7 separate regions of the Homo sapiens genome follow, and all the other regions are linked to region 1. The links are contacts of gene promoters, found by promoter capture Hi-C in blood cells and fetal thymus (Javierre and others, 2016). All regions are on one chromosome and are shown on one strand. The core of a region is centred on a gene start or on the middle of the fragment in contact, and the rest is flanking DNA. Distances in the headings are between cores, read along the strand shown.

Region 1 (3,117 bases), core at 436-2,935:
TCTCTACTGGTCTTCTAAGGTTGATGTCTTTATATTTCATCTTAACAAAAAAGAAGCAGAAATAATAATACTAAAAAAAGAGGAAGCAAAAGGAGAAGAGGAAGAAAAAAAGAATTAGACACGAGGTAACATTATAAAAACAACCTTAAAATGCCCAGATAAACGTAACTCTAATAGGAGACTGAATGAATGGACTTTGTGGGAAAAACAGTAGTAAACTTTAAAGCCACTGAAAGGTTTTAAATGCCTAAGGGAAAAATAAACATTTGCTTCCAATCATTTTCTCATTAAGCATTCTCTGCTAGATGGAGAAGGCTTACTACACACACACACACACACACACACACACACACACACTCTTTGACTCCGCGCCACAAACGGGGACTTAACCCACTGCCCGATCTCTGTCAGAGGCGACCCATTTGCGCTTCTGCTATCGCACCTCCGCCCGCGTTCCTGCGCCCCAGGTTCCCCGCTGCCTCCCCGCCCCCTGCAGCGCGGGAGCGTTGCTTCGCCTGGCCTGCTGGCCTCCTCTAGACCTTGGCCACCTTCTCCGTGGCAGGAAGGGCTACATGCACTGACAGATTTTCCGTTGGTGGTGGCTGGGTGGTGGCGAGGCGTGTTTCCGGGCGCGCTTAAAACCTAGCAGCTCTCTCCAAGTAGCAGCTTCCCCTACTCCGCCCCTAGGACTGAGGACCTAGCCCTCGATGCCCCCTCACTTCTCCCCGTCCTACCCCGCCATCACCTCCTAACCTCTCCAGTATACTCTCAAGCCTCACACGGGCGCCTGTCCTCCCTTTGCATTCCCTAGCTCCCGGGCGCCCCGTTCGGTTGAAGTTTACGTATCTTGGGACCTAATTGCTCCCAATTATCCGCGCAGCCTAAGTCCCGCGTCTGCCTGGCTCTCGCCCCGGGAGCCTGAAGCTACCGGGCAGTTCATTGGGTGTCCTCGGGGAAAAGGTTCAAGCTGTAGAGATGAGAGAAGTGGGGCTGGGGGAGGGGAGAGGCTCCAGAAGGAAGACCACGAACACGTGCGAAGAAATAAAAGCCACCACGTGTGCACGCGCGCGGGGGCCCAAGGGCGCGAGCGCGGAGCACGCCCCAGGGGGCCAGGGACAGTGGTCCCCTGCAGCGGGCATAGCAGGGGGCGCGGGTACTCACACGAAAGCGTGGTAGATGAACGCCCAGCCGCGGGGTCTCTCCAGCACGTTGTACAGGTAGTTCTGCACCCGCCGGTACTTGACGTTGCGCCGGCAGCTCTGGCTACTCGTGTAAGAGAGCGGCTTCCCCAGCAGGCTCATCCGGGCCCCCTGCTTGCCCCGGCGGCTCTCCCTCAGGCCACCGCCGCCGCCACCGAGCGTGGCCGCGCGGGTGCCCAGCAGTAGCAGGCCGTCGCCCCTGGCGGCTGCCGAGTTCAGCAGCACCCTGCCCCGGCCGGACTCCACATCCTTCATGCCGCTGCCCAAGCGCCCCCCGCCCGCCGCCGCCGCCGCTGCGCCGCTCTTCACCCAGAGCCCGGCGGCGCCGCCCTCCTCTCCTCCCGCGTGGTGGCGGGGCATGGCATCACCACGGGCACCGCGAGGGGGCCGCCAGCGCCTGCGGCGGGGGCAGCGGCCTCATGTGCGCCGGCGGGTTTCAAGGAGGAAGCCGGCGGCCGACGGGGCGCCCGCCAGCCAGAGACCTCTGAGCCGGGGGCGGGGAAGCAGGCAGCCAGCAAACCGCCCGGGCTTCGGGGCGGGAAAGGAGGGGCTGCAGAGGAGGCCGAGGAGTCCCAATTTCTAACAGCCTTTAGCTTCGAATTCTAAATCCGGACCTGTTTGGGGCGTCACTTTGAGAGGGTTTCTCTTGCTCCCTCATTCCCGCGACTACCACTCCCTCCTTCCCAAACTGCCCCCGGGGATAGAGTGGGGGAGTGCGGGGCGCTCCGAGGCGCGCTCCCACGCGCGCACACCCAGCCCCAGGCTTCCCCTTCCCTCTCTCCACTCCCCACGCCCTGCAGCGAAACGGCCCCAGAAGCCCCTCTCCGAGGCGCGAGTTCGGTTTGGTTCTGGCAGGGGCTTTGCAGCTGTCCGGAAGGTGAAGTCAGCCTTGTGTCCTGAGGAGAAACTGGAGATGCAGGTCGCTGTGCCCTCCCGCTGCTACGTCGCTGCGCCGGATCCTGCCATCCTTCCGCAAGGGGTGAGAGCGGGAACAGCCCTGCCCTGCCTTCCAGGTATTATCTAGCCTGGAGGCTGGAGCGCAAGGTAACGCTCCGGGAAGTGGCACTCGGGTCCCCGCACACGGGCGAGTCCTCAGCAGTTCAGTGGACAGACCCGCAGGACGCGGCTGCCAAGTCCGCGAGGCAAGGACCAGGCATCTTCCCGCGCCTCACTCCAGCCTGCGGACTGTGACTTTCCATCCCAGTATCAGACAAGCTCGCGAGTAACTGAACATCCTTTCCAGTCCATGGGTGGGGTGTGGAAAGGGCGTAAAACTCCAAAGTGGCTCCTCCGCGGTGAGCGAGCTGCCCCGGGGCTCTGCCTGACTGCAGCGCGAAGCCTGGGAGAACAAACCCAGTTCCCTCCGTCAAGAAATTTCCATTTAAGTCCGAGAAAGTCATATGATTGAGAAGTTCAGCAGCGGCGGCGAGGACCCAGTGTCTGGGAAAGAACACCTGGAGGATGGGGTGTCCAGGACGCCGGCTTTTCGGGGTTCCGACCCCACCCACCTTATGTTGTAACATACAAGCTTAGAGACCTGTTGCAAGGAACAACTGACTGGGTCTTCCACCACCCCTGGCACCCGGGTGGCCCAAAGCCTATGCGCCCTTGGCGGAGAGAGAGGCCACGGTGCCACTGGCCGCAGCCTCTGGCCTTCAGAAACAGTGTATTACAAAGAAAAGGCAGTTTAAATCTCACATTCAGCATAGGGAAAACTGAAGGGTGCCAGGCTCGGGGACTTCTTCCAACAGAGTGGCTCTTCCCCAAATATGAAAGAAAATCATCAAATTAAATTGAAGGCAAAACTAAGCTTCCACCACAAAGACATAGCAGATAGTTGCAAGGTGGATTCCTTCGGGCCTTTTCCTTTCCTAAGGCTAAAACAATGCTAAGACAAAAGTCTTCTTGCAGCTGTCTC
Region 2 (3,145 bases), core at 273-2,772, 390 kb before region 1:
TTGCATGCCTCATCGCCTCATTCCATTCAAGTCTCTGCCACCCATTTCAGTGGACTTCTCTAAACATACTATCTAAACTTTCCTTCATTACCTATTCCTTTTTCTTGCTTTCCTTTTATTTGTAATATCTAATATATTGATTTTCCTGTTTGTTTATTCTAGGTCTTCCACAAAAACATTAGCTCCATGAGAACAGAGATTTTGGCTGTTTTGTTCATTGCTATCTCCTCAGCTCTTAAAAAAGAATGCCTCATCCTTATTGGGTACTGCATACATCTTGTTGAATAAATGAATAATGGAGAAGATACAATGTCAAGTAGACAGGACTGAGGAAAGTTAGAGGAAAGAAAGTTTATTTCAGGAAGGAGGAGGTATTTGGTCCAGGTTTCAAATGATGGAAATGATCACAGCATGGAAAGATAGTAAGGGAAGGGTGTTTTTCCTTCTACTGACAAACATTTTGACTTATTTTCCAGTAACCCTGTAAAATTTATCATACTACCTTGTTTCTCTTTCTCTCTCCATCAGATATACTTTTGTGAAGCTCAAAAGGGCATAAGAGCTAAACATCAGTGTGGACCTGGTTGAATATGGCTCATTTATAGCTCTAAGGATGTCTGCTGGGTAGCCTGTCAAGTCTTGAAACAAAGTTGTACAGAGTTTGGTAGCATAGCCTGGACCACTTGGTTAGACATCAATGTTTGCATAAAAATATGGAAAATTCTTTCCTTCCTTAATTGTAGATAGAGGCATGGTCTTTTTCAGGCACAATCATTATCTTTAGCTTCAAAAATTCTTTCCTCTAATATCTGAAATACTTTTTATGGGGCAACTTACTATGTTATTATCCTTCTGTTAAGGTTCAGTGTAGGTGTTTAACTATTCCTGCTTTTTTCTTTTCAGTCATCGGCAGATTGATGAGGGTCGTTAGTCTCTGTGAATCATTTTAGAGTTTATTTGCATTTTTCCTTGATGAAAGAAAAGCAAAGGAAAATAACTGCAGTTTTCAATGTTCATTGGGATATTCTGAGAGCTTTCTGCAGTAAATTATAGGGATGTGATAAATCTAAAGAAGCATTGCTCATTCCTCACATCTGATTGCTTCATATCTCATACTGCGTTACTGCCTTTACAAACATAAGATTTAATATCCTCGAATGGATTCTTATCCTTACACTCTGTTATCCTCTCTTACAATATTTAATACCAGAAGTTTTAAATGTAAAGACTACTGTCATCTCATTCTGTATCAAACCCTTACAATTTCATGTGCAAACCTTTCTACTTTGCAAGGACCAGTAAATGTGCTTGTGGCTGATTTTTCCCTCCCCCGTTAATACTGGTATATAGGAAGTGGCAATGATGTCTCTAATTCTTCAATACCATGTTATATATATATAGTGAATATTTATATAGCAATTAAAAATGCATGTGCCCGCATTAAAAAGAAAACAAACATGTAACAAATTATGTAGCTGTTATTACCTTTCCAAGGGGATGCTTCACTTTACAAAAGAATTCCCTATAGATTTTCTTTAAATAGTAAGCTCCACTAGTACATTTAAGATATAATTAGACCTGCCTAAATTGAGTTTGTACACAATTCAGGAGCAGAGTCACTGTGCAGGGAAACAATAAACCCATGTTTACTTTGCTACCTGAAGCATAAGGAGAAAATATGCATATGTAGAAGCTGTCAAACATCTGGATGTTTGGGAAAGCCTGGATAGAGTACTCATCCAGATGCTGAGCACGATCCATTTGTAGTTTGGAGTCTTTCTAACACAGCAGGAGGGTACAGGAGCAAATATACTGAGACAGGCTCTGTCTTGCTAAAATTGATAGTGGCATTCCTTTTACTGCTTATGGGTGGGCACTTTTAGAAATGATAACCTGCAATAAGAATTTTGCAAATAATATGCATCACTTTCATCAAATGGAGTTCTCTTTTCTCAACATGATGGACAATTTTCATCTAAAAACTTAAAATAAATACTTTAAAATTAATCTGGATGGCAAGAAGTTCTTTAACAGAGAGGAAATGCACTCCAGACAGTATTGTTCTCAAAAAGGTGGGAAATACAATGCTAAAACCTACAACCTTTGGCTAATGAAATCAAAACAAACCAAACAAAACTTACCACAATAGTCTAACCTGGAAATAGGAGAACTCACTTCAACAGCATGATACTCACCTGAGCAAAGTGAACTGGGGCTAGAAGATGAACTTTTACACTTGACTATTTACCCCATGAATCAGGCTCTTGAATATTTGCAAAACAGAATTTAGAATTCTCAGTACAAAGAACTTCTAGTGGTCTGAATTGATATACCCATTTGTGATAACTTGGTAAGTGGAACTCTTTATGAAAGCACAGCATCCTAAGTAAAAGTGTTGTAAGCCTTATTTGGCATATATGGAACAAAAAGAAGCCTTAGACATGAGCACTTCATTGGGTACTGGCAAATGCATTTTGGTAGACTTGTCAGCCTTGAAAGAAGCAAGAGAATGAGAGGCAGCGGGATGCTCTGAAGACAGCCCAGTCTTTTCCTCAGCCAGGCCTAAGCTGGAATCTTGGCTATTTTACACTTGGTGTGTTATCTTGCACAACTTATTTAGCTATTTGTGAAAATGGGAGGGGATACTTACATTGCCAGTTTTATTTTTCTAGTAAGAAATCAATGAGCCTAATAAATGAAGGGTACTTAAAAAATGCTGGCTCCCTTTCATTTTTGATGGAATCACCAAATATAGGAAATTAACACCAGCTTTTAACTGTCCCTGGAATGTGGACACACAGTTTCATACACGTTCTTGAGTTCACAAATTTTATCACCAGGGTGATGGCAGAGCAAGCAAGTCCATCAGATCTGGAGTTATTCCTGCCCAATGTTTCACTCAGTAGATGCAGACATCGAGAGAAGAGATATAAAGCCACAAGCACTGTCATCAGACGTATTTACTAAAATGCTTCAACAATTGAAATCAGTTTCATTAGCCACCAGAAATAAGTGGCTATTGTGAACACATGCTGCATGCCGAATGTGTACCACTGAGTCACTTTTAGAGAACATGTTTATGTAGCAAGCTTCCATAATTAACAGTGATTGCGGTGAGAAAACTCTTACACAGATACTTGTTTTC
Region 3 (3,231 bases), core at 655-3,154, 430 kb before region 1:
GCAGGTTCAGCTCCATGATAGCCTCTTCAGAGAGACCCTTCAGATGCTTGTCAGTGCCCCAGAGGCTGTTGCCATGGGCTGCAGTCAGTACCCATTTCCCCTCCTTGATCTGGGGAAATACTTCTTCATTCCAGAAGGGCAGAGCTCTGGCAATAGTGTCCTTCAGACTCTCACAGGAGGGTAGGTGATTTTCTGTGAGGTCTGCATACCTGTGATCCTTACTGATGTTGCTGTAGAAAGGATGGTAGGGCTCCATCGGAGGTGGTGGGACATCATAGGAGCACCTGCAGATCTTCACCTGGGCTTCACTATGTTTTGCAGCAGTTTCTGCTTTATTGAGACCGGCTAGAGCCCCATAGTGCTGCTCATTGAGGCGCCAAGTCCTCACTATTGGCAGCTACATCTGATCAATGGCATCTAGCACTGTCCAGAAGGTCGGGATCGCTCTCTTCTGCAATGAGGTGAAGCAGATGTCAAACTCATAGCCAGCATCTCGCCGTGCCTGCTTTGCCGCCTCATGGCCCGCTGGGCTCAGGATGGCGTCGTACCAGCCGCTGAAGTGGTTCTCCAGGTTCCACTCACTCTCGCTGTGCTGGATCTGCACCAGTTTGTAGGTGGCCATGGTGGCAGGCTTGGGGGATAGCATTCTTGATTTGGCTCTCAGCTTGGATGTTGTTGGTGCACAGGGATTCTACTGATTTTTGTACATTGACTTTGTATCCTGAAGCTTTGCTGAAGTTGTTTATCAAACCAAGGAGCTTTGGAGCAGAGATTATGGGGTTTTCTGGGCATAGAATCATACTGACTGGAATCAGGGACAGTTTGACTTCCCCTCTATTCAGATGGCTTTTATATCTTTCTCTTGCCTGATTGCTCTGGCCAGGACTTCCAGTACTATGTTGAAAAGGACTGGTGAGAGAGGACATCCTTGTTTTGTTCTGGTGTTTAATAAGAATGCTTCCAGCTTTTGCTCATTCACTGTGATGTTGGCTGTGAGTTTCTTATAGATGGCTCTTATTATTTTGAAGTATGTTCCTTCAGTGCCTAGTTTGTTGAGGGTTTTTAACGTGAAGGGATGTTGAACTTTATCAAAAGCCTTTTCTGCATTTATTGAGATGATCATGTGGTTTTTGTTTTTAATTCTGTTTATGTGATGAATCACATTTATTCATTTGTATATGTTGAACCAAACTTGTGTCCCAGGGACGAAGCCTCCTTGATAGTGGTGGATTAGCTTTTTCATGTGCTGCTGGATTCATTTCACTAGGATTTTATTGAGAATTTTTGCATCTATGTTCATCAAGGATTTGGCCTGAAGTTTTGTTTTTTGTTGTTGTTGTGTCCCTGCCAGGTTTTGGTATCAGGATGATGCTGGTTTCATAGTTAGGGAGGAGTCCCTCCTCCTCTGTTTTTTGGAATAGTTTCAGTAGGAATGGTACCAGCTCTTCTTTATACTTCTTGTAATATTCAGCTGTGAATCCCTCTGGTCCCGGGCTTTTTCTGGTTGGTAGGCTTTTTATTACTGATTCAATTTTGGAACTCATTATTGGTCTCTGTCCAGGATTCAATTTCTTCCTGGTTCAATCTTGGAAGGTTGTATGTTTCAAGGAATTTATCCATTTCTTCTAGGTTTTCTAGTTTGTGTGCATAGAGGTGTTTTTAGTAGTCTCTGAGGGTTTTTTAAATTTTTGTGGGGTAGGTGGTAACATCCCTTTGTCATTTCTGATTGTGTTTATTTTGATCTCTCTTTTTTTCCTTATTAGTCTAGCTAGCATTTTATCTATCTTATTTATTCTTTCGAAGAACCAAGTCCTGGATTCATTGATCTTCTGTATGTTTTTTTGCGTCTCAATTTCCTTCAGTTTAGTGCAGATTTTGATTTCTTGTGTTCTACTAGCTTTGGGGTCGATCTGCTCTTGTTTCTCTATTTCCTCTAGGTGTGATGTTCGGTTGTTAACTTAAGATCTTTCTAACTTTTTGATGTAGGCATTCAGCTCTATAAACTTCCCTCTTAATATTGCTTTAGCTGTGTCCCAGAGATTCTGGTATGTAGTATCTTTGTTCTAATTAGTTTCAAATAATTTCTGAATTTCTACCTTAATTTCATTGTTTACCCAAAAGTCATTCAGAAGCAGGTTAATTTCCATTAATTTCTATTTTTATTGCACTGTAGTCTGAGAGTGTGGTTGGTATGATTTTTTTTTATTTGCTAAGGATTGTTTTATGGCTGATTAGTCAATTTTAGATTATGGGCCATGTGCAGATGAGAAGAATATATACACTCCTGTTTTTGGGTGGAGATTTCTGTAGATGTCTATTAGGTCTATTTAGTCAAGTGTCAAATTCAGGTCCTGAATTTCTTTGTTAGTTTTCTGCCTCAATGACCTGTCTAATACTGCCAGTGGGATGTTAAAGTCTCCCACTATTATTGTGTGGTTATCTAAATCTCTTTGTGGGTGTCTAAAAACTTGCTCTATGAATTTGGGTGCTCCTGTTTTGGATGCATATCTATTTAGGATAGTTAAGTCTGGCCTTTTGAGGTGAACCCTTTACCATTATGTAATGCCTTTCTTTATCTTTTTTGATTTTTGTTGGTTTAAAGTCTGTTTTGTTTGAATGTAGAATAGCAACTCCTGCTTTTTTCTGTTTTCCATTTGCTTGGTAGATTTTTCTCCATCCCTTTAGTTTGATCCTATGTGTGTCACTGCATGTGAAATGGGTCTATTCAAGACAGCATACTGTTGGGTCTTGCTTCTTTGTCCAACTTGCCACTCTGTGCCTTTTAATTGGGCATTTAGCCCATTTACATTTAAGGTTAATATTGATATGTGTGGATTTGAAGGATCAAATCCTGTTTTGTGTTGTTAATTGGTTATTATGCAGATCTGTTTGTGTGGTTGCTTTTTGGCATCAATGGTGTGTGTACTTAAGCACGTTTTTGTAGTTGCCAGTAATAATCTTTCCTTTCCATATTTAACACTCTCTTTAGGACCTCTTATAAGGCAGGTCTGATGGTAATGAATTCCCTTAGCATTTGCTCGCCTGAAAAGAATCTTATTTCTCCTTCATTTATGAAGCTTAGTTTGGCTGGATATGAAATTCTTGTTTGGAATTTCTTTTCTTTAATAATGCTGAATATAGGTCCTCAATCTCTGCTGGCTTATAGAGTTTCTGCTGAAAGGTGTGCTGTTAGCCTGATGGGGTTTCCTTGGGAGGTGGCCTGCCCCTTCT
Region 4 (3,448 bases), core at 479-2,978, 410 kb before region 1:
TGCAGTGGTGCGATCTCGGCTCACTGCAAGCTCCACCTCCCTGGTTAATGCCATTCGCCTGCCTCAGCCTCCCGAGTAGCTGGGACTACAGGCGCCCACCACCACGCCCAGCTAATTTTTTGCATTTTTAGTAGAGACGTGGTTTCACCGTGTTAGCCAGGATGGTCTTGATCTCCTGACCTCGTGATCTGCCTGCCTCGGCCTCCCAAAGTGCTGGGATTACAGGAGTGAGCCACCGTGCCCGGCCGGAACTGTCCAATATCTTGATTGTTGTTTTAGATATACTAATCTCTGCAAGTGATAAAACTGTACAGAGCCAATACACACACACACACACACACACACACACACACACACACACACACAAATGTATTCAAGTAAAACTGGAGAAATCTGAATGAGATTTGTGAGCTGTATCAATATTATTATCCTGGTTGTGATATTATACTATAGTTTTACAAAATGTTACATTTTGCGGAAATTGGGTAAAGTATACACAGGGTATGTCTACTATATCTTACAACTGCATGTGAATCTACAATTATCTCAATAACAATTTAAATTTAAAAAAGCCATTGCCAGCAATCTAGACAATGGGATAGACTCGTAAGAGGAAATGTGTTCTTCAAATCCAGATGCTGGGTCTATTTTCACTGTGTTTTGTTTAGAGGTACTCTCTAAATCACCCTTTGGATGAGGTCTCATTGTTTTATTTTCATATGAGTTGAAAATACAAAAATCTGTTACATTCAGTCGAGATGATTTAAATTAGGGATGGTTCTTCTGACCCTTGCTGGGTAAGCCATGAGACAAGTTCTGGTGCCTTTGCTGCTGTACCTCAGGATAAAGCAGTTCATTTTCTCTTGCTTGGTTTTAGTTGAAATAAAATGCTCGCTATTTACTGAAATGGCAGCTAAAGAGATTAGTGAATAATATTCAGAATATTTGACTTGTTTGGAGGAAAGCTGTAGTGGAAACTTGATGTTATTAACAATGGTCCTGTCCTTCCTTATTTAAGCCCCTAGAAGCTTGGCTTGGATAACTCTTTACAAAAGCAAAGACAATAAATGTGTATTATTTTTATCACTCACCTTGTAGGAGTTACAATGGTTCCTCATTTGTCCTCACAGAATTTTGGTAAAACATAGAAGAATTTTCTTATTCTTCTTAAATGATAAGGAAATTAAGAAGCCTAAGAGGCAGTGGTGGCCGGGCGCGGTGGTTCACACCTGTAATCCCAGCGCTTTCGGAAGCCGAGGCGGGTGGGTCACGAGGTCAGGAGATCGAGACCATCCTGGCTAATAAGGTGAAACCCCGTCTCTACTAAAAATACAAAAAATTAGCTGGGTGTGGTGGCGGGCGCCTGTAGTCCCAGCTACTCAGGAGGCTGAGGCAGGAGAATGGCGTGAACCCGGGAGGCGGAGCTTGCAGTGAGCCGAGATCATGCCACTGCACTCCAGCTTGGGCAACAGAGCGAGATACTGTCTCAAAAAAAAAAAAAAAAAAAAAAAAGAAAAGAGGCAGTGGTAGAGCTAGTCTTGAATTTTATCTACAATATGTATTGAGAATACCAATCCATATTAACCCTCTTTTCCAGGCATTAAAGAAGCCTCTTCATATGTCACACCTGAGAACTGTGATTCAATTTAATTGATACATATAACTCTGCTGTACCATTTGAGGTTTAAATTATGTTCTTGCCGTTATTTTGTTTTTTAGCTACTTAAAATTGTTTTAGGCAGATTGATTTTTTGGGTACAAATTCACAATGCTTAAAAGCTCATGTACCAGTTGTTTTCTCATTAATTAACAGCACTGTTCATTAAAACACAGTGACCTTTGTCTAATCTACAAGCTGTCTTCTGTGACCATTAGTTTTTTCTGGTTTTATGCCATCAAATAGCATTTTCGTGAAGATGAAATGCCGACATTATAAACCCTGTGACATTTGCAGCAATTCTTGAAGAGCTGTGGCTAATTAGACATACATAATTAGAACTATTGCTTTTATTCAGAATATCAACATAATCAATTCCCAGCTGTTTTTGTTCCTTTTTGTGTGTGTGCATATACTTAAAGTAACATAGGGCTAGCAGGTCAACATGCCTCTTTACATAATCCCTGCAGGGAAAGAATTTGTGATGTAAACTGCATCATAAAATGCAAAAAAAAGGCATCAGTCAGAAGAGTTGCAGTTATAATTCTATGTAATTTGGAAAATTCTACTAGTATAACACATATTAGGGGAATGAAATTAAGATCTAGAGATGGCTCCAAACTTAAACCAAAATGTGGAAATACACAAAAGTAAATATCTTCCGGAATTGTGTCTCTTTGGAGAGCAGAAAAATATCCTAAAAACATGCTTACTAACTATAACTTATAGAACATCACATACCATCATCAATCCAGCTAGCTTTCAAGCTTCTCCTTACTTTTTGGGAAGGTATATTAGTGTATTGGAAGAGAATTTGAGGGAATGAATGTTTTTACCAAAGGGACTAATTTGACCTGGTGTTGAGGACACATGGATATTTACAGAATCATTGCTGCACAGAGGTGGTTGTGAGAGCGTGACAGAACTTCACTAAGTTGGCTAGTAGATGCTTCGGGGGTGGGTATGGGGGGAAGGGGGTCATAGAAGTGGGAGTGGGGTGGAGATAGGGGAAATTAGATTAAGGTGTGAAGGGGTATGGATGCTTCCTGCCTTGGAAAAAAATGACTGAGGTAGTTTTGACAGACAGTGTCACTGCGGCTAGTCTCATTGATTGGAAGGCTTAGGTAGATATGATAGATGAATTTGTTTGAGTAGCTCCAGCAAAATCTAGTGTCTTAGTGGGTCTTTCCCCTTGGGATTAGTTGATTCCTGAAATTTCTTTATAAATGATTTATCCATTCAAGTTTTTCACACCTGTTAATATATAAATCTGCTCCTGAAAAGTAATTCATTTAACCATACCTAAATAACAATGTTCATTTATCCCAGAGGTTCTTCAGAAGATCATAGGGAGGCAATAGTTTGAAAATGCCCCATTCCAAATGACTGATTGACACTTTGTTACTAAGGAAGGATCACGGCTGGTTTTTTATCAGGTATTGAGGCCATAAATTGAGACCATATGGGCTGGAGGCAGGAAGTGGGTGCCCCCTGCTTGGGGAAAAGAGGTGGGAACAGCAGGACATTCCTGGTTTACCCCTCGCTGCCTACCTGGAGTGGCCCTATGCATCCCAGTTACTAGTTGGGATGCCATGATGAGAGGACTTCCGTCCTCTCTTGTAGTGATTTTAGATCCTTAGGGATGGGTTGGCTCTTGTCAGCAGCTATAATGCCTGCCTAGTATGAGCAGCCACCCAGATGATCCCTTCTGCCTTTACGTTTTATGTTCTGTAAGTCACATCTGCATCAGGGCACAGGATGTCTTAGGCTTTCCCCTTCACCTGCCACAGG
Region 5 (3,460 bases), core at 562-3,061, 490 kb before region 1:
TATTCCTTTTCCTGAGAATATCATTGAATAAATGTATGCTAAATAAAAGTTAAAAATTCACACAACTACTTGGGAAAACTGGAAGTTTCTATGAAAGCTGAACATTTAAGTATCCTATGATACAACTACACACTCCTAGGTATATTTTCAAAATATATGCTTATATATGTTCATTAAAAGATATGTACTATATGTTGGTTTCTAATAAACTAAAGCTGGAAATTCCAAAATACCCAGAAACAGTAGAATAAACAGAAAATTTGTGACACCATTTACATAGTACAATACTATATGGCAATAGTACATATAGCTACACACAACAACATGGATGAACTTCATGTGAATAACGTTGAGTGAGAAAAAGAAGACACCAAGGAGTACATTTCCATAACGTACAAAAACCAGGGAAAACTATTCTACGCTGTTAGAAGGTAGCACAGTGGTTATCCTTATGGGATAGTGATTGCGAAGGGGTACACAGGAGGTCCTGCTCTGTTTATCTGAGTGCTGGTTATGCAGGTGTGCTCAGTTCTCCTAAGATATGTGCTCTTTTCTGCATGCACATTGTACTTCAATGAAATTTCAGAAAGTGACATAAAAAAACTAGAAAAATATAGTGGTAGAAACTGAGGGACTTTTTATATTTTTGAGGAAGGTTTAAATGATTGAACCAAAGTTCCTTGCCTTCATTACATGGCTCATGCTGATTTAATCTACAAATCTGTGGAAATTTGTGCTAAGTATCTTGACATCTTATATAATGCAACTATTGTTGCATCATCTTGAAATGTTAATCTTTGCAAATATTATACCTGCACAATTTATAGAGTGATTTAGAATAATTAAGGAAAACACATGGATTTAGGATTGCAGCTTCTTCTGTAGTAGTGATGCCCAGAGATCCTCTAATGTTGTGATGACACAGACGGCTGCCTTAATTAAACAATTTCCATAGAAGATGTCACACATATATGATTTTTGATACATTGAAAGCAAGACTCCTGTAGAACTAGAAGCATATGGCAGGTCTGCACATTATTAGATACCAGTGAAAAAATCCAAAACAACAGAACAACAAAAGAATGGGACCAAGGCATTGCCTGTGAATGTTATAAAGAACTGGGGGCAAAAGAGGCCACTCTGAGAAAATTAAAGATTTTCTTTACAATGAGACCTGATGTCTTGCTATTTTTCTCTCAAATTGATCCCAACAGCTAAGCTCTTGTTCCCTTCATTACTCATCTCCCAAAAATGCCTTTTAAATGAGAGGTATGGAAGGTGCAGGTGGCATCTGTCACATGGCTGATATTAGTTAACAGTAAAAATGAAGGTGGAAAGTGGAACTCTATGCCCGTTACACTCTAATAACTTTATTTTGTTCTTAGGTCTCTCTTAGCAAATTGTTTCTAGTAGCTGAACTTTGAACCCACATCCCTGTGATCCAGTAGCTGATGTTCCTATATTTAAAGCCAAAATCACACAGTAGTTGGCAAGAGAAAAATAACACTTAGAGGGATTTCCTATGGTTAATTTACATGGTGTATACAATTCAAAGGACAAATCAACAAGAAGCAAAATGAGAGCCAACTTTGCCATTTATCAGGTGATGCTGGTGCTCTAGGCAGTCAAAGAGATTTGGACTTTGCTCAATAAGTACAAGGCCAGTATAATTCAGTTTTTTTGGGAGTATTTTGTTTGTCTTGCAAGTATTACCATTATGGCATGTTTGATCCTTACTGGAAATGGTTTAGAAGGTTTCAGCTGACCATCCAAAGGAATAATGAACACAGAGCTTATTTTTTCAAGGTACAGAGTTTAAAATGTGAAAGTCCTGAAAGTTTTAGGCTATGAACCAGCAATCCCTTTCCACATCTTTCTTCACACTACTTTCTGTTCCTCAGAGGCAACCCCTTCAATTCTTATAGTTGTTGCTTCTATTTTTAAGAATCCTTATTTATTATTATTATTATTTTTGAGACAGGGTCATACTCTATCACCCAGGCTGGAGTGCAGTGGTACAATTATAGCTCACAGCAGCTTCAAACTCCCAGGCTCAACCAATCCTCTGGCTTCAGCCTCCTGAGTAGCTACAGGTGTGTGAGGACTACAGGTGTGTGCCATTGCACTTGACTTTTTAAAATTTTTTTGTAGAGGTGGGGTCTCGCTATGTTGCACAGGTTGGTCTTGAACTCCTGGCCTCAAGTGATCCTCCCACCTTAGCCTCTCAAAGTGCGGGGGTTGCAGGCATGAGCCACTTGCGTCCAGCCAAGAATGCTTATTTTTAAGGATTATGCTTATAGTTATATTTCTTGATTTTTCAATTTTAGACATTATCAATTAACTTCCTATCCTGAACGATAATGATATTGCCCACTTACATGCCCTCTTCCCCTCCTTTCATCCTATCAACATTTTAATATCACAATTCTTAGCTAAGTTACTATTTAATATTATTATGACAATGTAACTGCTGTTCCCAGTTCAGCAATGTGATGTACTATGGCTGCTCTTTCTTTCTTATACAAGTTTTTGGTTTTTTTGGAGTTATAATTGCCCTATTTTAATTTCTTGATTTGCATATATGTACCTGTTATGATTACATTCCAGATCTTTCCAACAGAACTATAAAATTCCTCTGGTCAAATGCATCATGAAATCTGAGAACTCCATTCTTTCGCTTCCTTGAAGATCTTTCTCCTGGAGCTCTCAGCCTCCTTCTCATTCTGTTCTCAAGGCCTGCATAGCTGTTGTCTTGGGACTTCCCTTCCCTATTATCATAGAAATCCCCTTTGCTCTTTCCTGTGCGGAATCTCTTGTTTTCTTGACTCCATGTCTCTTTCTCTCTTGGCTTATCCCCTTGTTGTGGAAGAGAAGTTCTATTTACAAAGTTTCTTGAGTAAAGGTAAATGGTAGATTAATTTTTGAGATCTTGCATGCCTAAAAGTGCCTTGGTGCTGCTCTCACACTTGATGGTGGTTTGGCTGGATATAGAGTTCTAGGTTGAAAATAATTTCTATAATTTCGAAAGTATTGTTTCATTGTCTTCTAATTTTTGGATTACTAATGAGAAATCCTATGTCATCCTTATTCTTGTTCCTTTGGCTCTGTCCTGCTCAGAAAGCATTTAGGATCCCCTTTTGGTAAGTTTTCTGATATTTTACTGTGATAATCTTGGTGTGAAGTTTTTGGTTCACAGTGCTGGACACTTGGTGAGCTCTTCTACTGTGGCCACTCCTGTCCTCCTGTTCTGGAGAATCATAATGTTGTATTTCTTTGATAAAATCTTCCTCTTAGTTTCCCTGCACTTGAGCTGAGACATCTTTATTAGCTGGATATTGGAATGCCTGGATGGACACTTCATGTTTCTTATCTTTTTTGCTTTATTTTCAATCTCTGTTTATTCTAGTTTCAGGGAAATTTTCACAACTTTATCTTACCTTCTGTTTTTTTTCCTGCCTTC
Region 6 (3,267 bases), core at 119-2,618, 450 kb before region 1:
ATTTTATATATTTTTAATTTTGGCAACAATCTAGCACTCAAGAAATATTAATGATGGTTTACAAGACAACTTAGTTGGCCTAAAAAGATGTGGAAAGCCTTTAGACAATAATAAGTAGTATTTATTTTCCATATAACTCTCTTTCGCAATTTAATATTTTTATTGAAACCATCCATAGGAACCATTACGTTGTATTAAAAAAAAACAATTCACAACATCCAATAAATAAAAAATGTATTTTTATACTTACTGTGCCCCACCAGAGAGCATCTGCATATGTAGAAAACTCTTTATTGGCATCCTTTTCCACCAGATAGACAAGGAAAGACGAAAAAATAAGAACCAAAAATCCTATGTACCAAGCTGTGATTAATTCCTAGATATAAAAGGAATGAAAGATTTTTAGAGGTGGGAAATCTTTGAAAAAGGAAAAAAGAATTCTATGAGGATTCTATTCACTTTACTACTTCTTGGATGTTTATGATGGCTCTTAAATAATCCATTGTACATCATGTCCCAAAATTGTTTTAACCATTTTCTGCAATGACTAAGTTTTCTTGTGACAGGTTTATTAACTATTACAGCGATCAATGAAAAAGTTTCAAAAATTGTGTTTTTAAATTCAGAGAGCAAATCTTACCTTGCTGTGAGCATAAACCACTGAACCCAGTAATTTCCAAGTGCCTCCCCTTCGGTCCATGCGCACCATGCGGAGGATCTGTAGGAAACGGAGACTTCTGAGTGCAGACGTGGCAAAAATATTACCCTGAGTTTTTGCAGAAACAACTGCTATTGAAGCGATAAGAACAATGGTATCTGAAAGAAACAGGTCGAAATAGCCACAGTTAGCACGACCAGGAATTTTTATTTACCAAAACAATATTTCCAAAAGGTTCACTTTGACCTATTTAAGGTACAGATAAACAGATCTTGATTCCCAGCTGCACCTAGTGCCACTTGGCCTCTGTGGCATTTCCGAAGACTGAAGAATGAAAAGGCAGAGAATGGGACCTACCTATTGCTGTAGTTCTGACCCTTTGGCCATTCTGCGCTTTACCTATGCAATTTTGAACAACGTATTATTTAACCTTCAACAGATTGGACAATGGTGTTCAAAAAACCCAAGGTTTCAGGGAGCCTTAAGACTTTGGGGCAACCTTTCACAATGTCTCTCGTTTCATCCTTTTTCCTGTGGCAAAAGGATCTCCTGCCTCAGCCCTCAACACCACAGCTTCTGGGTGATGTGACAGAGGCATGTAAATGTGTCCAGCTTGAAAGTGCTGTGAGATATAATCATTTCTCTTGTTTTCCTGCCAAATAAGTTTGCATTTCCTTTCCCCCAAAATTCCCTAATGTGGCACCTGCAACTTTGCATATTGTTTAACAAAGGCCTCAGCTAAGCTGAATACTCTATGCTTCCTGTATAGAGTATTCTTTAGACCTGTTCACCAATTATGTGTAAGTTTGCTGCATAATTAAATAATATTACATTTGTTATAATAGGGTATGTAAGTATAAACACTGTGCATTGCAAGGGAATGAATACTTAATGTTTGACATATTGACATTAGGCTGAAAAAATCTGCCTTTTCTAAGCAAAAAAGAGAAAAAGAGCATCTGATGAAAGCATAGAAAAGATAAAAGAAAACTTAATCACTCCATAAGTAAACATCTGAGTGATGGGAAGTAGGCTTTGAAGTGGGATAAGTGAAGTGGGGATGAATGGCCTCCTGTGGCAATTTTAATAAAAGTTAGCTTGACTTTAACATCCTCAAATACAATTTCCTTCCTGCTCCAAGTGGGTTGTGCATGACTGGGCTTCCACACTCCAAAGAGGAGTTCCATTTCAAGGATGTCACATTTGTAATGTTTCTGTCATCCTCTGGATTAACTGCTGTATAAGTGAGTATTCCTCATTCAGCTCATCCTTCTCCCTGCACTGAGAAAGGTCTGGTCTCCTGGTGTGGACTGAGAAGATCTTCTGAGCCTCTCTGCTGGTGCCCCTTTTTGGGTCAGTGCTTTGAGAGAGAGGGGGGGTCAGTTGTTGGCAGTGCAAGTTTCAGCCAAAGGGCTTCTTCCCCTCTCCTCTCCTTTCTTCCCTCTTTCCATCCTTTGACAGGGTCTCACTCTATCACCCAGGCTGGAGTGCACTGGCATGAGCTCTGCTCACTGCAACCTCTGTGTCCCACCTCAGCCTCCCAAGGAGCTAGGACTACAGGCATGCACCAACACGCCTGGCTAATTTTTGTATTTTTTTGTAGAGATGGGGTATTGCTATGTTGCCCAGGCTGGTCTCGAACTCCTGAGCTCACATCATCTGCCAGCCTTGGCCTCCCAAAGAGTTGAGATTACAGGTGTGAGCCACCGGTGTCCGCCCTGAAGGACTTTTTCCACCAGCTCTAAATGCATGTGCTTTTGTGGGTAAGTACCCAGAGAGCCAAAGAGAGTTACCACTCTTGGCAGCTGTTGGAAACAAGAAGGAACTAAATGTGTTGACACTGACACCAAAGACATATTTTAAGTGAATAAAGGCCAGTTGCAAAACAGTATGTACAATGTGATTTTATTTTAATAGAAATATATATTAGTATATGACTAGGAAAAAAATTTGAGACTAGGCTGGGCGCAGTGGCTCACACTTGTAATCCCAGCACTTTGGGAGGCCAAGGTGGGCGGATCATGAGGTCAGGAGATCGAGACCATCCTGGCCAACATGGTGAAACCCTGTCTCTACTAAAAATACAAAAATTAGCTGGGTGTGGTGGCACGTGCCTGTAATCCCAGCTACTTGGAAGGCTGAGGCATGAGAATCCCTTGAACCCAGGAGGCGGAGGTTGCAGTGAGCCAAGATCGTGCCACTGCACTCCAGCCTAGCGACAGAGCAAGACTGCGTCTCAAAAAAAAAAAAAAAAGTGAGACTATACGCTGATTATTACTATTAATTATTTCTAAAGGGAGTGAGCTGAAGTGAATATATGCATAAAGGGGCTTTTCACTTTGTAAATTATTAATTTCTGTATGTTGGAAGTTTATAACAACGACTATGTCTTTGCAATTAAAAAAACTTTATAAAAAGAGTTATGTGCAAACACATCTCTTGGTTTTCATCATGTTGAGGGATTTACTCCTGAGACTAGTGGTTTACAAACAGACATTACTTATATGACCCTGTTGGACATACATTTTGCTTTTATTTCATTGTAATCTTGCTTTCTCCCAAGTGTAGAAAGAAAAGAAAAAGATATACTACCTCATTTACTATGCTAA
Region 7 (3,155 bases), core at 359-2,858, 360 kb before region 1:
CCTCACCTGGTCTATGTGCGCCTCGTCCATGTTGCCTTTCTTTTCCAACACCACCTCTAAGTCCGTCTCTGTTTCCTCCTTCCAAGGGTCTCTTGCTGCCCCACTCTCTTTCCTCTTGTTCTTTTTCTTCCTTTTCAGAGCCGGCTCCTCAATGATTGGCTGCTCTACCTTCTTGGACTTCATCTTTTTCTTCTCGGGGGCCTTAGGGCCATCTCCTTTGGGGATGGATGTATTCCGGAGCCTCAACTTTGGCTTCGTTTTACTTCCTTTCCTAGGGCTGCTCTCCATGGACCTGAAGGGCTTGGAGTGGCCTGGGAGGGCATCTCCCTCCTGGTGGATTTTTGTTTTCTTCTTCTTCACCTTCCCACTGTGCTCCCTGGGGCTCTTCTGCTTCCGTTATCTGCCCCAAGGCTGCCTGTTCCTCACCCTTCTTCCCCACTGAGCAAGTGTCCGCAGCATCCCCAGCCTCGCAGAACCAAGGGTTCTGGACTGAGAGGGCTGTGGGGTCCTGGGCCCCCTTTGTTTCCTTCTTGTGTTATTTGAGCTTCTTGCCAACTCTGGTTTCCTCTTCACCCTGTCTGGGGTCTGGGGAGGTTTTCACCCCAGAGGCATGGGACATGGCTGGAGGTGACTTCTTCTTTTTCTTCTCCCCACAGAGGAACTCCAAATGGCCAAGCACCTGCTTCCTGGGATTGGGTGACTTCTCTGACCGTCTGGCACGCAGCGTGGTGTCAGGTTCTACGTGCTCCTCACAAAGGGTGCTGACACCCTTCTTTTACTTGTTTTCTTCACTAGAGGCATCTCAGGTGCCTTCCCATGGACCACACTCTTAGAGGGGGATGTGGCTCTTATAGGAGAAACATTGGCAAAGTAATCATCATTGTTTAAAATTGAGTATTGAGTCTCTGGTTCTTTGACCACTTTCTTCTTCTTTTTCTTCTCTGGGAGCCCAGGGCCCAGGTCTGCTTTGTGTTTCTTGGTGATCATTCTGATGGACCAAACTTCCCCACCTCCACATGAGAGCCTGCTCCACTGTGACCCCAATTTCATTCTTTTTTATGACTGTGTAGTATTCCGTGGTGTATATGTTCCACATTTTCTTTCTTTCTTTTGAGATGGAGTCTCACACTGTCACCCAGGCTGGAGTGCAATGGTGCGATCTCGGCTCACTGCAACTTCTGCCTGCTGGGTTCAAGCGATTCTCCTGTCTCAGCCTCCCGAGTAGCTAGGATTACAGGTGCCCACCACAAGGCCCGGCTAATTTTTTGTATTTTTAGTAGAGACGGGCTTTCACCATGTTGGCCAGGCTGGTCTCGAACTCCTGACCTCATGATTCACCTGCCTTGGCCTCCCAAAGTGCTGGGATTACAGGCATGAGCCACCATACCTAGCCTCCACATTTTCTTTATCCGATCCACCATTGATGGGCAGCTAGTTGACTCCATATTTTTGCTGTTGTGAATAGTGCAGCAATGAACACAGGAGTACATATGTCTTTTTGGTGTAATGATCTATTTTCCTTTGGGTATATAGCCAGTAATGGTATTGCTGGGTCAAATGGTAGTTTTCTGCTTTAAGTTCTTTAAGAAATCTCTAAACTGCTTTCCAAAGTAGTTGAACTAATTTACCTTCCCACTAACAGGATATAAGTTGTCCGTTTTCTCCACAGCCTCACCAGCATCTGTTGTTTTTGACTTTTCAATACTAGCCATTCTGACTAGTGTGAGATGAAATATCATTGTGGTTTTCATTTGCATTCTGTGGTGGAAAATCAGGCTTTTTGATGGAAAATTAGGAAGAGGTTAGGATTTTCATAGCTCTGATCTCTTGGTGTTACTGTAACAATACTGACCACCAACAAGTAGGATTATTTCTTTTCTATTCCTGTAATTTAAAAAAGTCCTTTTTGGGGACAGGGGAATGTTGTGGTTTATCTGGTTTTCAGCTCATCTGAAATTACTCTTGATGACTGTGGTTTTTTAAACTGTTAAAAATATGCTGTTAGTTACATGCCTTCCATTTTCTCAATATTTAAAAACACAGAGTAAAAAATCTGAGTTCTTTGGAGAATTTCTGGGTGAACAAGATTGATTTCTTCCTACGTTCTTTCTTGCTTCTCTTTTTTTTGGTGCATGTGTCACAACATATTGCGCTGTCGCCCACACTGGTGTACAGTGGCCAGATCATAGCTCACTGCAGCCTTGAACATCTGGGCTCACGCAATCCTCCTGCTTCAGCCTCCCAAGTATCTAGGACTACCAGCACATGCCACTATGCCAGGTTAATTTAGACAAAAATTTTTGTAGTGACAGTCTCACTTTGTTGCCCAGGCTGGTCTAACTACTGATTTCATGTGATCTTCCTGCATTGCCCTCACAAAGTGCTGGGGTTACAGGTGTGAGCCACTGTGCCTGACTTCTTGCTTTTCTTATAGGCCCTCTCCAGGGCTTCGAATTTCTTGTTTTTACTGTTATTAAAAAAAATTGTTGGGATTGGTTCCAAAATGGCCGAATAGCAACAGCTCTGGTCTGCAGCTCCCAGTGTGATCGACACAGAAGACGGGTGATTTCTGCATTTCCAACTGAGGTACCTGGTTCATCTCACTGGGACCAGTTGGACAGTGGGTGCAGCCCATGGAGGGTGAGCTGAAGCAGGGCGGGGTATTGCCTCACCCAGGAAGCACAAGGGGTGGGGGGATTTCCGTTTCCTAGCCAAGGGAAGCCGTGACAGACTGTACCTGGAAAATCGGGACACTGCCACCCCAATACTAGGCTTTTCCAATGGTCTTAGCAAACAGCAAACCAGGAGAGTATATCCCATGTCTGGCTCGATGGGTCTCACGCCTATGGAGCCTTGCTCACTGCTAGCACAGCAGTCCAAGATCAAACTGTGAGGCGGCAGCCTGGCTGCGGGAGGGGCATCCACCATTGCTGAGGCTTGAGTAGGTAAACAAAGCAGCCTGGAAGCTCAAACTGGGTGGAGCCCACGCAGCTCAACAAGGCCTGCCTGCCTTTGTAGACTCCACCTCTGGGGGCAGGGCATAGCTGAACAAAGGGCAGCAGAAACCACTGCAGATTTAAACGTCCCTGTCTGACAGCTCTGAAGAGAGCAGTGGTTCTCCCAGCATGGTGTTCGAGATCTGAGAATGGACACAC

What was found. Contacts are between HindIII fragments. The CHiCAGO score rates a contact against its expected background, and 5 or more counts as called.
Region 2: a fragment that was not itself captured here is called in contact with the fragment with the promoter of KCNQ5 in region 1 in 1 of 17 cell types (M2 macrophages); the score reaches 5.2 in M2 macrophages.
Region 3: a fragment that was not itself captured here is called in contact with the fragment with the promoter of KCNQ5 in region 1 in 1 of 17 cell types (M0 macrophages); the score reaches 5.9 in M0 macrophages.
Region 4: a fragment that was not itself captured here is called in contact with the fragment with the promoter of KCNQ5 in region 1 in 4 of 17 cell types (M2 macrophages, M1 macrophages, megakaryocytes and 1 more); the score reaches 8.6 in M2 macrophages.
Region 5: a contact is called between a fragment that was not itself captured here and the fragment with the promoter of KCNQ5 in region 1, in 17 of 17 cell types (megakaryocytes, M0 macrophages, M2 macrophages and 14 more). The highest score is 21.9, in megakaryocytes.
Region 6: a fragment that was not itself captured here is called in contact with the fragment with the promoter of KCNQ5 in region 1 in 10 of 17 cell types (M2 macrophages, non-activated CD4 T cells, M1 macrophages and 7 more); the score reaches 9.6 in M2 macrophages.
Region 7: a contact is called between a fragment that was not itself captured here and the fragment with the promoter of KCNQ5 in region 1, in 1 of 17 cell types (M2 macrophages). The highest score is 6.0, in M2 macrophages.

What each region holds. Positions count from the first base shown.
Region 1 is chr6:72,620,632-72,623,748 of GRCh38, reverse strand. KCNQ5 (potassium voltage-gated channel subfamily Q member 5) reads right to left here and starts at 1,685. Exons shown (of 14, transcript NM_019842.4): 1 at 1,162-1,685. The coding sequence starts at 1,559. It overlaps KCNQ5-DT (KCNQ5 divergent transcript), which reads left to right and starts at 1,070. Exons shown (of 3, transcript NR_186827.1): 1 at 1,070-1,217. RefSeq lists silencers at 351-400, 1,431-1,690 and enhancers at 49-1,000, 3,111-3,117. The HindIII fragment of the contact is 6,363 bases long and covers 1-2,729 here.
Region 2 is chr6:73,013,095-73,016,239 of GRCh38, reverse strand. The region is part of intron 2 of KCNQ5 (potassium voltage-gated channel subfamily Q member 5); the gene reads right to left. Among named protein-coding and RNA genes, the nearest start is that of MIR4282, 47 kb to the right of the region's middle. The HindIII fragment of the contact is 3,138 bases long and covers 1-3,091 here.
Region 3 is chr6:73,052,488-73,055,718 of GRCh38, reverse strand. All of the region lies in intron 3 of KCNQ5 (potassium voltage-gated channel subfamily Q member 5), which reads right to left. It also overlaps the pseudogene PGAM1P10. Among named protein-coding and RNA genes, the nearest start is that of MIR4282, 86 kb to the right of the region's middle. The HindIII fragment of the contact is 2,350 bases long and covers 730-3,079 here.
Region 4 is chr6:73,032,904-73,036,351 of GRCh38, reverse strand. The region is part of intron 2 of KCNQ5 (potassium voltage-gated channel subfamily Q member 5); the gene reads right to left. Among named protein-coding and RNA genes, the nearest start is that of MIR4282, 67 kb to the right of the region's middle. RefSeq lists an enhancer at 2,954-3,448. The HindIII fragment of the contact is 1,396 bases long and covers 1,031-2,426 here.
Region 5 is chr6:73,115,190-73,118,649 of GRCh38, reverse strand. All of the region lies in intron 7 of KCNQ5 (potassium voltage-gated channel subfamily Q member 5), which reads right to left. Among named protein-coding and RNA genes, the nearest start is that of KCNQ5-AS1, 27 kb to the left of the region's middle. The HindIII fragment of the contact is 4,782 bases long and covers 1-3,460 here.
Region 6 is chr6:73,074,871-73,078,137 of GRCh38, reverse strand. It overlaps KCNQ5 (potassium voltage-gated channel subfamily Q member 5), which reads right to left. Exons shown (of 14, transcript NM_019842.4): 4 at 641-816; 5 at 251-376. Among named protein-coding and RNA genes, the nearest start is that of KCNQ5-AS1, 67 kb to the left of the region's middle. RefSeq lists an enhancer at 1,135-2,067. The HindIII fragment of the contact is 5,940 bases long and covers 1-3,267 here.
Region 7 is chr6:72,984,187-72,987,341 of GRCh38, reverse strand. All of the region lies in intron 1 of KCNQ5 (potassium voltage-gated channel subfamily Q member 5), which reads right to left. The region is part of intron 2 of LOC105377855 (a long non-coding RNA gene); the gene reads left to right. It also overlaps the pseudogene KNOP1P4. Among named protein-coding and RNA genes, the nearest start is that of MIR4282, 18 kb to the right of the region's middle. The HindIII fragment of the contact is 3,310 bases long and covers 1-3,155 here.